2 separate regions of the Homo sapiens genome follow, and region 2 is linked to region 1. The links are contacts of gene promoters, found by promoter capture Hi-C in human tissues and cell types (Jung and others, 2019). All regions are on one chromosome and are shown on one strand. The core of a region is centred on a gene start or on the middle of the fragment in contact, and the rest is flanking DNA. Distances in the headings are between cores, read along the strand shown.

Region 1 (6,531 bases), core at 2,705-5,204:
CTATGCTGGTCACAGCTTTCACAAACCCTGCCACAGGACCTTAACACTTATGTGTTGAAGTGGCACTCAGAATTAAGTAAGTTTTATTTTCTCCAAGTCTTCACTGTTATCAATGATTATTCTTATAACAACCACCTGGTGTTCAGCATTATGCTAGGAACTATAAAAATATAAAAAGAATTATAAAGCATGTCCCTAGCCACCGAAAACAGAACAATATGCACAGGAAAATAAGCAAAATAACTGAAGACAGTGAGTGCATGCCTGTGTATATATGCATATATGCCATCTACTTTGGAATTTAAATCACATTTTCCCACAGAAACACAGAGAAGGTGGTTAGGTTTCAGTTGAGGTGACTCCTCAAACTTATTTCATGCTTATTTAGTTAAGCCTCAGTAGCTGTCCTTAATTCCTTAAATCTCAAAGTGATTTTCAACCAAGTTGAGGGGCTAATGGGTAGTGCTGTATAGCTGGAAATAACACATTCGATATTATGACATAATTTTACAATTAGAAAATGAACAACTATTTTTCATGATGCAGAAGCCACTATTTTAATTAAATGAATTTGTAAGTGGTAGCTATAACATACATACACAGCGTGACCTGCCAAACACTGCTCCAATATCTTTACACATAACTTACTTTTCGTTATTTAACTCACTTTATTTATTTATTTATTTATTTATTTATTTAATGTTATTTATTTTGAGACGGAGTTTCACTATTGTCGCCCAGGATGGAGTGCAGTGGCGCGATCTCACTACAATCTCTGCCTCCTGGGTTCAAGCGATTCTCCTGCCTGAGCCTCCCCAGTAGCTGGGATTACTGGTACCCGCTGCCACGACTGGCTAATTTTTGGTATTTTTAGTAGAGACAGGGGTTTCACCATGTTGGCCAGGCTGGTCTCAAACTCCTGACTCCAAGTGATCCACTCGCCTTGGCCTCCCAAAGTGCTGGGATTACAGGCATGAGCCACTGCGCCCGGCCTAACTCACTTTATTCTTAAAACAACCGCAAGAGGGAGTACCGTCAATATTCCCAGTTTTAAGGTGAGTAAACTAAGGCAGAGGGATGTTAAGTAATTTCCCCAGTCACATAGTTCGACAAAGCTTCTTGGTGGGTGAAGATACACAGAAAATATTTTATTTTCTGAATAATCTCATTATCCAATATTCTTTACTCGGGTTGAAAACAGAATGAAGGGATAAAGGCACTATGTTAATAGTTAGGTAAGTACTTTTTTTTAAAGCAGTAAGTAAACTAAAATGATTCATATTAGTATGGCCCCAAATAATTCCATATTGTTTATACCACAGACAGGTTCACACAAGGGCCCTAAGATATATATACATGGATGTTATATATATATATATATATATATATATATATATATATATATATGGATGTTACATAACAAAACATGTTATGTATGGATGTTACATAACAAAACAAAAATCCATGTGTGTATATATATATGTATATATGTATATATGTATATATATGTGTATATATGTATATATGTATATATGTGTATATACGTATATATGTATATATATGTGTATATACGTATATATACGTATATGTCTATATACGTATATATATACATATATACGTATATATATGTATATATATACATATATACACATGGATGTTATATAACAAAACACTACAGCAGTGTTTTGATGGCTAATGACTGAAAATCTAAATGTCCATCAATGGGGACAGGCTAAATACTATTTTTATATTTTTACAAAGGACTGCTGTGTAGCCATGGAAAGGATGAGGTAGTTTTATACCCATGGATATTGAAAGTGCCTAATATACAGTACTAAATGGCAAAAGCATGTGTATTAGGATTCCACTTGTGGGAAAGACAGAAGGGGGTATATATTATCATGTGCTTTATTATGATCAGAAAGTTTCTTAAATATAACCAAGAAATTATTTACAGTGCTTACTTCTGGGAAGTGGGGAATGGAGATGGGTAGATCAGTAGATAGAAAAGAAAAAGACTTTTTTTACATTGTATCCTTCTGTATTAAATTTCCTTTTATCAAAAGCATATAGCTGATTTTAAAATAGCTTAATTAAAAATACAGCAATATAGAGCTTAGTCTCCTTTTACATAATGGTTTCTAACCACAGACTGGTATGTAATGATCAGTGGTATTCCTAATAGTAATTAACCTAGAGAAATTAATGAATGATTTATTTTATAAACAAGGATAAAGTCAACATCCCTTTAATTAATCCATTAATCAAAGGGAGAAAAAGAAAGGGGGCCTATAAAACTCAAGCAGAAGGTTGAAAAAAATCTTCTAAAGATCATGTTTAAGAAAGGCTGCATCCCAGAGTCTGGATGCCAGAAATGCCAACGACCTTCTTGAAAAACAAGGAAGTATCTTTACGTGATTGTCAAATTGGGTTGGGAGGTCCCAAGGTGTGGACAAGGCTTTTTAAAAACTTCATTCTTTTACGTTTATACTTTTGCATATTTCATATTATACACAACATATTTACAGTGGTAGTCATACACTATAAATAATTAAACACACAACATTTGGGGAGATGCATGCTCAAAAATGTTTTACTGATAGGGAGTGCAATTAAAAGGTTTGGAAGCTGCTGAGGTAGTAAAAAATATTGATGCAGTGAAAAGAAAAACATTAAATGGTCATTCTGTGGTCAAGGGATGAGAAGTAAAAGCTATGAAGCAGTTAATGTACAATGCCTGCAACTTTTGAGTACTCTTCAACTTTTTCCTGCATCTATTCCAAAACCAAATCCTGCCATTTTTCCAATAGGATATTTCCTGAGTTTGCCCCTTCATAACCATTCTGACCATCTAAATCTTATCAATTCACGCTTTTGGAAAGGCCTCTGGCCCTTATGTAAAGAGCCCTCCACTTGCTTGCATCTTGCACAGAACTGTAAAAAGGTCCTTTAAATGCTCAGACAGCTTCCAACTATCTCCAAAAGTGAAAGTACTTACCCATGATTGTAAATATCCCTGTCCCACTCTCAAACTGTCCGCTCCCCATAGACCAACTGGAGCTCTTTAAATAAGTCAGACAAATATATTCCTCATTCCTCAAAGGACTCACCCTCCCTTTCACATTCCGGTTGTGCAGATTAAACATACTCCACACCATCAAACCAAGTTATTTTTCCTCGAGAACTCTCTTAGAGGTTCCTTTTTCTCTAACAGCCTGCCCACCTCTGATTCCTGGGATTTTCGTGTTGACGGGATCGTTGGGATCTTTCCTCTCTTCTCATCTTTCCAGTAACCCATTAGCATTAGCAGGATTATTGGACAGGCCTCCGTTTGCATTAATATCTCCAATGATTCTGTGATCTCCGCCCTAAAGACCTTTGATTTCTTTTGGTCGCGCCTCCCCTTCGGGACACCAAGTTTGTTTAGGGCCTGAGCACAGGGGCCCAGCAGGTTCTTTCCGACGTCAGCGGCTGCGTACGGAGGCCGACTTAGGCAGGCCGCTCCAGGAACAAGGCCGTGCGGACAGGACTGACCTAGGCGCTTTTCCCCGTCGCTCCCAGAGGAGAAACGTACCGGGGAGGGGACAGACCGTGAGCAAGTGGTCCAAGTCTGCGCAGGGTGACCCCGAAGGCCCACCGGAGAGGCCGAGGCTTGTGGGCTACTAGAACTAGGCCTGGTAGGTGAAGGAGGCGGGTGAAGGGCCGGATCCAGGACTGAATCCGGGAGAGGCGGGGCGAGGAGGGGACTCCGGTGTAGCTGCTTGGGCAGCTCCCGCGGCCCCTCTGGCGGGGGTGACCGTTATTGGACTCGCAGAGGGAAGAGTTGGGTAGCGTCCCCTACTCACCTAGAAGCGCTGCCGCCTGAGGCTCCAGCTGCCCCCCTCCCAATTCAAGCCACGTCAGCTCGGGAAGCCCGTACGCGACACCTTCCACCGCCGCGCCCCGCCAGGGACTCAGCCACTAGCAGTTGGGACGGAAGATGGGATTAAGACACCGACCAATCAGGACTATCGGCAGGACGTTACCAGGGAGACCAGGCACACCTTGTTTGTTACCAACCTATCAACAATGACGGAAACCAATCAACGACAGAAGATGCTCCGCTTCCTCAAAGAAACAGCCAATGGACCCTAAAGAGTGAATGAGGGGAGTGATTAGACGCGAGTAGGTGCCCCGGAACAAGATCTGGGGAGGGACAGGAAGTGTCGAGTGGGCGGGCGTTCTGGGAAAGGTCAGATGTTCTCAGTGTGAAGTGGTTATGCTGGCTTCCTCCAATTCCTCCTCTTCGTCGGTTGTGACTGACCGAGACAGCGGCTTGGGCTTCGGCAGAGACTTGAGACTGCGGGCACCCGCTGCCATTAGGATTGTTGAATGAGCTGTGAGAAGGGAGTGGGGGATATGGGACTCTTAGATTGAAAAAATACTGGAGCCTCTTAGTTGTTCGTCTAGTTTCACCTTTTGATTTTGTTGATGAAAAATAATTAACCACAGAAGTAACTTGCCCAAAGTCAAACAGCGACTTAGTGATGGAACTCGGACTAGAACCCGGTGTCAGTATGAAAGAGGATCAGCAATGTCTGTAAGGACATGATTGTGAGAGAGAGAGTAGTGAATACTAGGAAGGTGCCTCTTACAAAGTGGAGCCTAAGCCAGGACCTAAGCAAAGATTGAGAGTTGAGGGCTCAGGCTCTGCAATGAGTGTCAGTGAGGAGCTCCAGCAAAAGACTGAAATCACTCATGCTTTCCTTAAACCCCTAAGGAAAGGGAAGGAAAGTAGCCAGTTTCCAATGAGCTGTCATTTCAGGCACTCTCTTGGCAATAAGAGTAATGTTAGTTTGAATTTATTGAATCTTGCTGTGCACTCAGCTGGCCCATTGTATGTATACTCATCTTAATGATTACATAACTTCACAATTCAAACATCAGCTAAGTAAGGCCTTTCCTGGCTGCCCATCTTACGGAACTGGAGGTCATTATTCTAAGTGAAATAAGTCTGGCACAGAAAGACAAATATCCCATGGTCTCACTCATGTGGGAGCTTAAAAAGTTGATCTCATGGAGTAGAGATAAGTACCAGAGGCTGGGAAGGTGGAGTTGGGGGAGGGAGGGAAGAGATTGGTTAATGGGTACAAACGTAGATAGAAGGAATAAGTTCAAGTGTTTGATAGCACAGTAGGGTGACTATAGTTAACAATATGTTATATATTTCAAAATAACTAGGAGATTAGAAATGTTCCAAACACAAAAATGATAAATGTTTGAGGTGATAGATATCCTAAACACCCTGATTTGATCATTACACATTGTATGCATATATCAAACTACCACACCCCATAAATATGTACAAATATGTATCAATACAAACATAAATAAAATTGCAATTTCCTGCATGCACTATATACTTCTTCTTTGCTTCTTTTTCCCCTAAGCATTTTGCCATCTAAAGTACTATATATTTCATTTATCTGGTATCTCTCTTCTCATTAGATTATAAGCTCCAGGAAGGTAGTAATTTTGATCTCAGCTTTATCTCCAGGTCCCAGAAAAGTATAGAGGAGGGCACTCAATATCTGTTAAATTAATAAAGTATATATGATTATCCTTATCTTAAATGTGAGACAATAAGACTTCAGAAGGTTAAATAATTTGCACAAGGTCACATGGTGAGGGGCAGAGACAGAATTTGAATGCTGCAGTACTTAATGAATACATCATATTCTTATATCCCTGATTGTATCCACCCAGCAAAGTCCTAAACCTGCATCAGTCCAACCATTGGTCTCTACTTCTACCTTTGGGGAGCAAAATGCTGCAGGAGACATCAGGACAATGTCATCAGTGACATCAATGTCCTGACCACTGCACATTCAGTTTCCAGCTGAACTCCATCTTCAGCACACTCCCAAATCCTTCTTGTCTTCAGCTTCCTCTCCTATTTGCCACAATTATTCAAACCTTTAACATCCTCTTTAAGTCCCAACCCCGTGTCTACACTTCACACTCCTAGCAGATGAACTTGCTTCTATCTTAGAGAAAATAGAAGCCATCACTGAGAGTCCTATTGTACTCCCTTACACAAAATTTACCTTTCTACATACTTATTTCCACATTCGACCTTAGAATTTACCTTTCAGTTTTAACAGAATGAAAGTTTCTTATGGGAGACGAGATTAGAATTTTTTCTGTCTAGTAGGTCTTCTTATAGCTCTACCTTCTATTATTGGGTGAGCACAGTATGGTGAGAATTATAGTGAACACTAGGGGTGTGAAGGAAGAAAATGAGGTGGAGAAGTTAAAGAGCAAAACATATTATTTCTAAGTTCACTGAAGGACTGGAAATAATTTAGAATGCAACTTAATGGAAGCAATTTAGGCTCTGAGAGGGTGATCAAGATAATAAAAGATAATTAGGGGTTGCCCCAGCAAAAAAGAGGGTACAGAATAGTGGAGGTAGATGGAGCAGCATGTGCATGGACCATTTGGGCAATTTGACATAAGTGATATGACTGAATGGTTAGGCAAAGAGTAGGT
Region 2 (6,531 bases), core at 4,032-6,531, 360 kb after region 1:
ATTACAAAGACATACTATTGTTGCATTGTCCAATATAATAACCACTAGCCATATGTGACTACTTAAATTTCAATTAATTAAAATTAAATAAGATTAAAAATTCATCTTCTCAGTCATACTAGCTATGTATCAATTGCTCAATAGCCACAGGGGCTGGTGGCTATCATATTGTTCAGCACAGAGACAGAGCATTTCCATTATCACTAAGAGTTCTTGTGGAAAACACTGCACTACAGGGTCTGGATAAAGCTGAGGTCTTGATTAAGTTGAACAACAGTTGTAGAAGGAGTAAGCAAGAGCAAAACCTGGATGAATAGGAGGTTGTGGACGGAGATTAGTATATTGAGATTAAGATTCTAGGGACTGAGCTGCTCCAGGTGAAAAGTTTCAGGGTTATGTCATAAGAAGGTGGGGGGCAGCTGCTGAAATAGTCTGCGGGTGTAGACCTGTGGAGTTGACAAGATCAAAGAAATTTGAGGCAAGGTTGTTAGACTCATTCATGAAGAAGTCACCCAAATTGTTAGCAAGACCTTGCATCTAATGCCAAAATCCTCATTTAGCAAGGTGGTAGTGACTTAGTAGCTACAAGCAATGAGAAAGTCAGACACCTCAAAAGGGGAAGGTGTTGCTCAAAGTCCCCACAAAGTGTGATAAAACAAACAGTAGCTGGGGCTGGAGCAAGTGGCTTCCTTTGGGTGAAGCCAGATTTCACTGAAATAATAACCTCAGGGAAACAGTCAATGAAGGGGTTAAAGATGTGGGAGAGTTTCCTTGTAGTAAGTAATGGAATGAGGCTTTCAAAGGGCCAAGTAAAACTTTGGAGGAAGTTTAGTAAAAGAAGGAATTTTTTTTAGTACAGATAAGCATAGGAACATAAAGAAGAGATAATTCTTAAACATATAAGATATGCATTTGGGGATAGCAGCCAGGGAACACTGAAGTCCCAGTGGGGTCAGAGACTTCATAAGGCTAGCAAATTACAGTTTTTGAGTGGCATTCCAACAGTAGAGTGTATTGCTCAGGAAGTCCTTAATTATCCTTTGAAACAAATTCCTTCAGCTGATTACGAAGGCATCTAGCTGGATTCTTGAGCGACTTGTTCCTGACATCATAGCAACCCATTGTAACTAGACTTCGACCATTCCTCTTACCCAAGTGCTGGGGAAGGGAGAGATTCTCAATGCTTACCCACCTATGGAATCCCAGTAAGTCCAGTTGCTAGGTGGCTTGAGGTCTGGGGTCATAAAATGGAAGGCCTGAAGTCATTTGGTGATCACAGACCTTGAGCCAAACTTTCCCCATTTAGTCAGAGAAAGGATTAGCAGCATCCCCCATGCCTGGCTCTGTGTGAGATCATGGAAGCCAGTGGTTGGTGAGGTGCTATGGAGTATAAATTGCAAAATACTTTCAGTTCCACTCAGAATGGATTTCAAAGTGATTTCCACCCCATGGGGAGGAGAGGGAGTCTGAGGAGGGATGGATGGAAAAAAAATTTTCATGTCATTTTCTGTGATCCACTCTGGAGACAGAGGCAGAGATTCTCTACAACAGCTGCTCAAACTATAGCTCTTGTTAAAATGGAGGTTCTGAATCAGTAAGTCTTGGGTGGGGCCAGAGATTCCGTGTTTCAGACCAGCCCACATGTGACGTGAATCTCATTGGTCCATACATCACACTTTCAGTTGCTAGGTGAAGAAGGGAGCACTCGATGAGTGGAAGAGAAAGCCGTTGTAATCTTTGGGAGAAGGGGCCTGGGTCAGCGGAGTTAGACTGGTCTGTGAGTGGACAGAATGGATGGGAAGGAAAGAAGATACTGTGAGGCTCTACAGAAAAAAAAAAAAAAAAAAATATATATATATATATATATATATATATGTAAATCAAGAAGACAGAAGCAGCTAAAGACGAAGTCATTTCCAGGTCCAGAAGGCACAACTGACAGCTGAGTAATAACATAACATTGACTGTTAATTGGCAGAATTTTTAACTGTGTGTTTGGTTTCTCCATCAGGTCATCTGTCCTATATTACATGACAATTTAGACTAAAACCAGTATTTCCTCAGAGACAATGCTAGAAGCTTTTACAGTAGGGGGCACTCTTGCATTACATTAAGAGCTCAGCAAAGAAGATGCAGAAGCCTCAGGTTTGCCTTGTAAGGTGATTCATAAACACACTAAATCTTCCTTAGGTCTCCCTTTCACTGTCAGGGTACGCATATAGATTTTCCTTCCTCCCTCCAATACCGGTACGCATCCTCTACAGGTGGTGCATTTTATACCTCAAGTACTTCACAGGGTCCTAGTGAGTGTAGTGAAATAGGCAGTGATTCATATTTGTGCAAACTCCCACTGATGCCTGCTGTCTGCTTCCCTAAGAGTTCAAGACCACCACCAACCCCTTGATTATGTGTTCTCACTGGGCCACTCTGTACACAGTTTAGTTTGACAAGTGCATGTCACTGTTATCTGTCCTTCTATTCCCTCTTTCAAGAGAAACCACATCAATTTAATTACTCCCCCACTTAGAACTCTTCAAATGAAGCTCCTCTCATCTCTCTCATCAACCCATCTCCTCCCTTTCCTCCTCAATGTCAACATGCCTTCACATAAATCCTGAATGATGAAATTTTATTTAGAACTTACACTAACTTCCTCTCCAAGGTGGCATCTAACTTCATATTAAGTAAGAAACAGCCTTCCCACTCTCCACCCCCGCACTTCTCACCCACCACTGCTTACTTTTTTTTTTTTTTTTTTTTTTTTTTTGCCAAGTCTCAAGTAATTCTGTAACCTAGAAAAGGTCCTACACAAACCCCGTGATCATTCACATTTAAGTAGTTGGGTGGCCCACATCCTTCCCACAAACCCCAAAGTGTCCTCAAGGACTAAAGCCTTTCTCTCAACCCTTCCAGCATGATGTCTATGGTTGTAAAATTGTCCAGGGTCAGTGCATACTGGGAGCAGCAAGTTTGTGGTGCCTGGGGTTTCCCCAATACTCCCAAAGCACATCCTCACCTGCCCATCTATGATTCATTTTCAGCATTTCACTCATGTGCCTTAAATGGTCATTGACCACCACAATCCGAAAACAGCCATCAAATTTGCCCAGTTCTCTTTCTGATCTCTGAAAGAGCTTAGAGAGGTCACTGAAAATAAAGGCCTTGGTTCACTATCGAAGTCATTTCTAAAGCATTTGACATCCTTGGAAGTGCTGGCCATGGGAGCAGCAGTCATAGGGGAAGTTCTGTAAAGGGAGCTATTTGAATTTCAAAGATGTTACTCAACGTGATTCCCCAACTAATGAAGTATAATAAAGGGGGGCTATAATTTATTACCATTATCAGCAATCTTTTCACCATAGCAGACCAAGGAATATGTGGATGGGAGGGGAGGGGAAAGCTTTTGGTGATGGTGTAGAAGTTATGGAACCTGTAACAGCTACAGTGATGAAAACTAAAATTAAGGTTATAGGAAGGTAACTGGTGGGTGAATGGGTTGTCTAACTCTACTGGTTTTTCCCTGTCTTGCAATTTAAATTCACAGAACCACAGTACTAGAAAGACCCTTGGAACATTTAGTCAACCACTTCATTAATCAGATGAGGAAACTGAGGCTCATAAAGATTGCAGTTTGTACAAGGCCACACATTTAGTCAGCGGTGAAGCAAGGACAAAGGTCCTAATCTCCAGATGCCAAGCAGATGTGCACAGTTCCAGAGCTTAATATCTTATTCTTCAGCATGATTACTGATAAGATAGTATCTGGGTATTGTATAAAGAGAAATGGAGGTTTTTTCCCCTTTCCTCTTGTTTCTCCCTCCCTAATCCTTAACCTTCTTTTTTAGGTGCTGCTCCTCTGAAGATTCAAGCTTATTTCAATGAGACTGCAGACCTGCCATGCCAATTTGCAAACTCTCAAAACCAAAGCCTGAGTGAGCTAGTAGTATTTTGGCAGGACCAGGAAAACTTGGTTCTGAATGAGGTATACTTAGGCAAAGAGAAATTTGACAGTGTTCATTCCAAGTATATGGGCCGCACAAGTTTTGATTCGGACAGTTGGACCCTGAGACTTCACAATCTTCAGATCAAGGACAAGGGCTTGTATCAATGTATCATCCATCACAAAAAGCCCACAGGAATGATTCGCATCCACCAGATGAATTCTGAACTGTCAGTGCTTGGTATGTGGTCAATGGTGTGTGTTCAGATTCTTAGCCTTCTCAGATGAGACTGCAAATGAGTTAGAAAAACACTGGAGGGGGACTTGAGGGGCCCAGGGGAAAAGGGGGGTCTATAGAGAGAAGGCAGAGGACAGCCACTTCTGGGAAGTGCATTTGAAGGGAGTGTAGAGTCTGGGAGTAGGGAACTGAAAGTCTTTTGTACTTTTTATAGTCTGCTTCTGAAGGATCAGTAAAAATCTGCTTTGGGGAAAAAATAGAGCTAATTGAACAAAGATAATATGGCTAATTACCTATAGTAAAAACCATGGATAATTTGGCCATCACAAAGTTTATATAACCATAAAGGCCTCAGATGTCTTACATTCATTTTTTCCTTGGGTCCAAGATTTTTCACCTACTAAATCTTTGCCTGGAGCTCCTAGCAAAGCGGACAGCTGACACATTTGGGTTTTCCCTTCAGCCTCCTCTAGGTTGCTTATGAGTTGTTTGCTGCCACAACCATGAGCCTGGTAGACAGAAGGGAAAAAAACCCAACAAACATAACCCACAAACTTACAAACCAGCTCCTCTGCTTCACGAGACCTTGGAAGGCCTAAATGCCACTACAGATTTTTTTAAAACTATCACACAGTAAAATTATTTTTTTTTGTTTTGATATACTGTTCTACTGATTGTATAGATCTTGTATAGATTTAGGTAACCGCCACAGGACATAGAGCATTTCTATCACCCTAAAAATTTCCCTCAGGCTGTCCCTTCATAGAGTCATACCCTGTCTGCACTCATAACCCTTGTTGGGCATCCTATAGTTTTGTCTTTTTGACAGTGTCACATAAGTGAAGCCACACAGTATGTAACCTTTTAAGCCTGGCTTCTTTCGTTTAGCGCGCCTTCGAGATTCACCCAAGTTGTTGCACATATCGAGCTTGTCCCTTTTTATTGCTGAGTAGCATTTTATTGTTTATCCATTCAACTCAGTAAAAGACATTGGGTTGTTTCTGGTTTGGGGCTCTTATGAATAAGGCTGCTGTAAACGTTCATGTACAGGTTTTTGTGTGAACATAAGTTCTCAGTTCTCTAGAGGAAATACCCAGGTGTGGTATTACTGGATCCAGGTTAATTTTTGATGAAACTTGAAAAGGCAGATCAACACCTATTCTAAAACCATAGAGTAAAACAGAAGCAAAAGTAAAAATAGAATGGAGAGCTGCTCCCTTTGAACCCTGTGTGATTTAAACTAGGCTGCAGGGCTTTAGGAATAGTTAACCAAGTGCTAAATCCGTGTTTTCAAAATGTGGTCAGGTACCATTGGAAATGTTTTAGGTGGGACACAGATAAGCATTTTGAAAAGCCATGTTGTATTTGTTTTAATGTATATTAGAAAAACTCTAACTTACGCAACATGTGATTTCACAGATCTTGTTAATGAAGCTAAACACGGTCTGGCAATTCACCTTCTACAGGCCACATAGACTCCAAGAAGACTGCTCAAATAGTACACTGATATAGCAAAACTTATAAAGATGACATGCAAATGACAGACCTTTTAGTAAGAATACACTAAATTATAAATTAGTTTGTAGAACCTGCAAACTACCTAGTAACTATAAAAGAACAAGGGATTTTTTCTGACAGAAGGCACATGACACAGGTCTAGGGACTCCATGCCAGTGATCCTGAACAGCCAGAAAAGTGAGAATGGCAAAGGCAAGAGAAACACTGTGTTTATTAAGATCATGTATTTTTCCCTAAAATAGCTGGATTTGGCCTTCTTCTTAGAGTATGTTATGAAGACACTTTGATGCTCATGCCAAAAATCAGTGTTCTGAATTTCGAATTCCAAAATATCCACCCACTCACTTACCACAATCCTGCTTGGGTTTCTGAAAGATATGACGCAGGGCATCTCAGCACCATGAACTCTGTCAGTTCCTGGTGAGACTCCAGCTCAATTCCTTCCTGCTCTCTTAGTCTGGGGAGCTGGAATGTGCCCCATGGGACACCTGGGCCCTAGAGTCAGACCACTTCTCCTTCCAAAGACTCTACTCCCTGGAAACAGTGGCTTCATTGTAAATCTTTGGTGACTCAATTACAGCCCTCCTGTCACTTAGAGAGCACCCCTTTGATTTGGATAAGCAGGAAGTAAGCATGGCTGCAAACTCTATTGTTGAAAAATAAACATGAAGTCATTATGTGGCACTCACCTTGGGCTGAGGGTCACATTTTAGACACCCTGAGGCTCCCAGGTGTGCCCCAATGAGCCCCAGATCAAGTACCCAGTTATTTGCTATTCCCTCCTAGATACATCTAAACTTAGATTGATTTTTTTTTATCTCTCTTCTGCTTTCAG

What was found. Contacts are between HindIII fragments. The study calls those that stand out against the background at their distance.
Region 2: a fragment that was not itself captured here is called in contact with the fragment with the promoter of GOLGB1 in region 1 in 1 of the 25 tissues and cell types used here (spleen).

What each region holds. Positions count from the first base shown.
Region 1 is chr3:121,745,787-121,752,317 of GRCh38, forward strand. It overlaps GOLGB1 (golgin B1), which reads right to left and starts at 3,955. Exons shown (of 22, transcript NM_001366282.2): 1 at 3,846-3,955. RefSeq lists enhancers at 3,613-3,662, 3,683-3,922. The HindIII fragment of the contact is 13,718 bases long and covers 1-6,531 here.
Region 2 is chr3:122,099,667-122,106,197 of GRCh38, forward strand. CD86 (CD86 molecule) reads left to right here. Exons shown (of 7, transcript NM_175862.5): 3 at 3,846-4,181. Among named protein-coding and RNA genes, the nearest start is that of CD86, 48 kb to the left of the region's middle. RefSeq lists an enhancer at 1,394-1,583 and a silencer at 4,626-4,695. The HindIII fragment of the contact is 5,084 bases long and covers 2,740-6,531 here.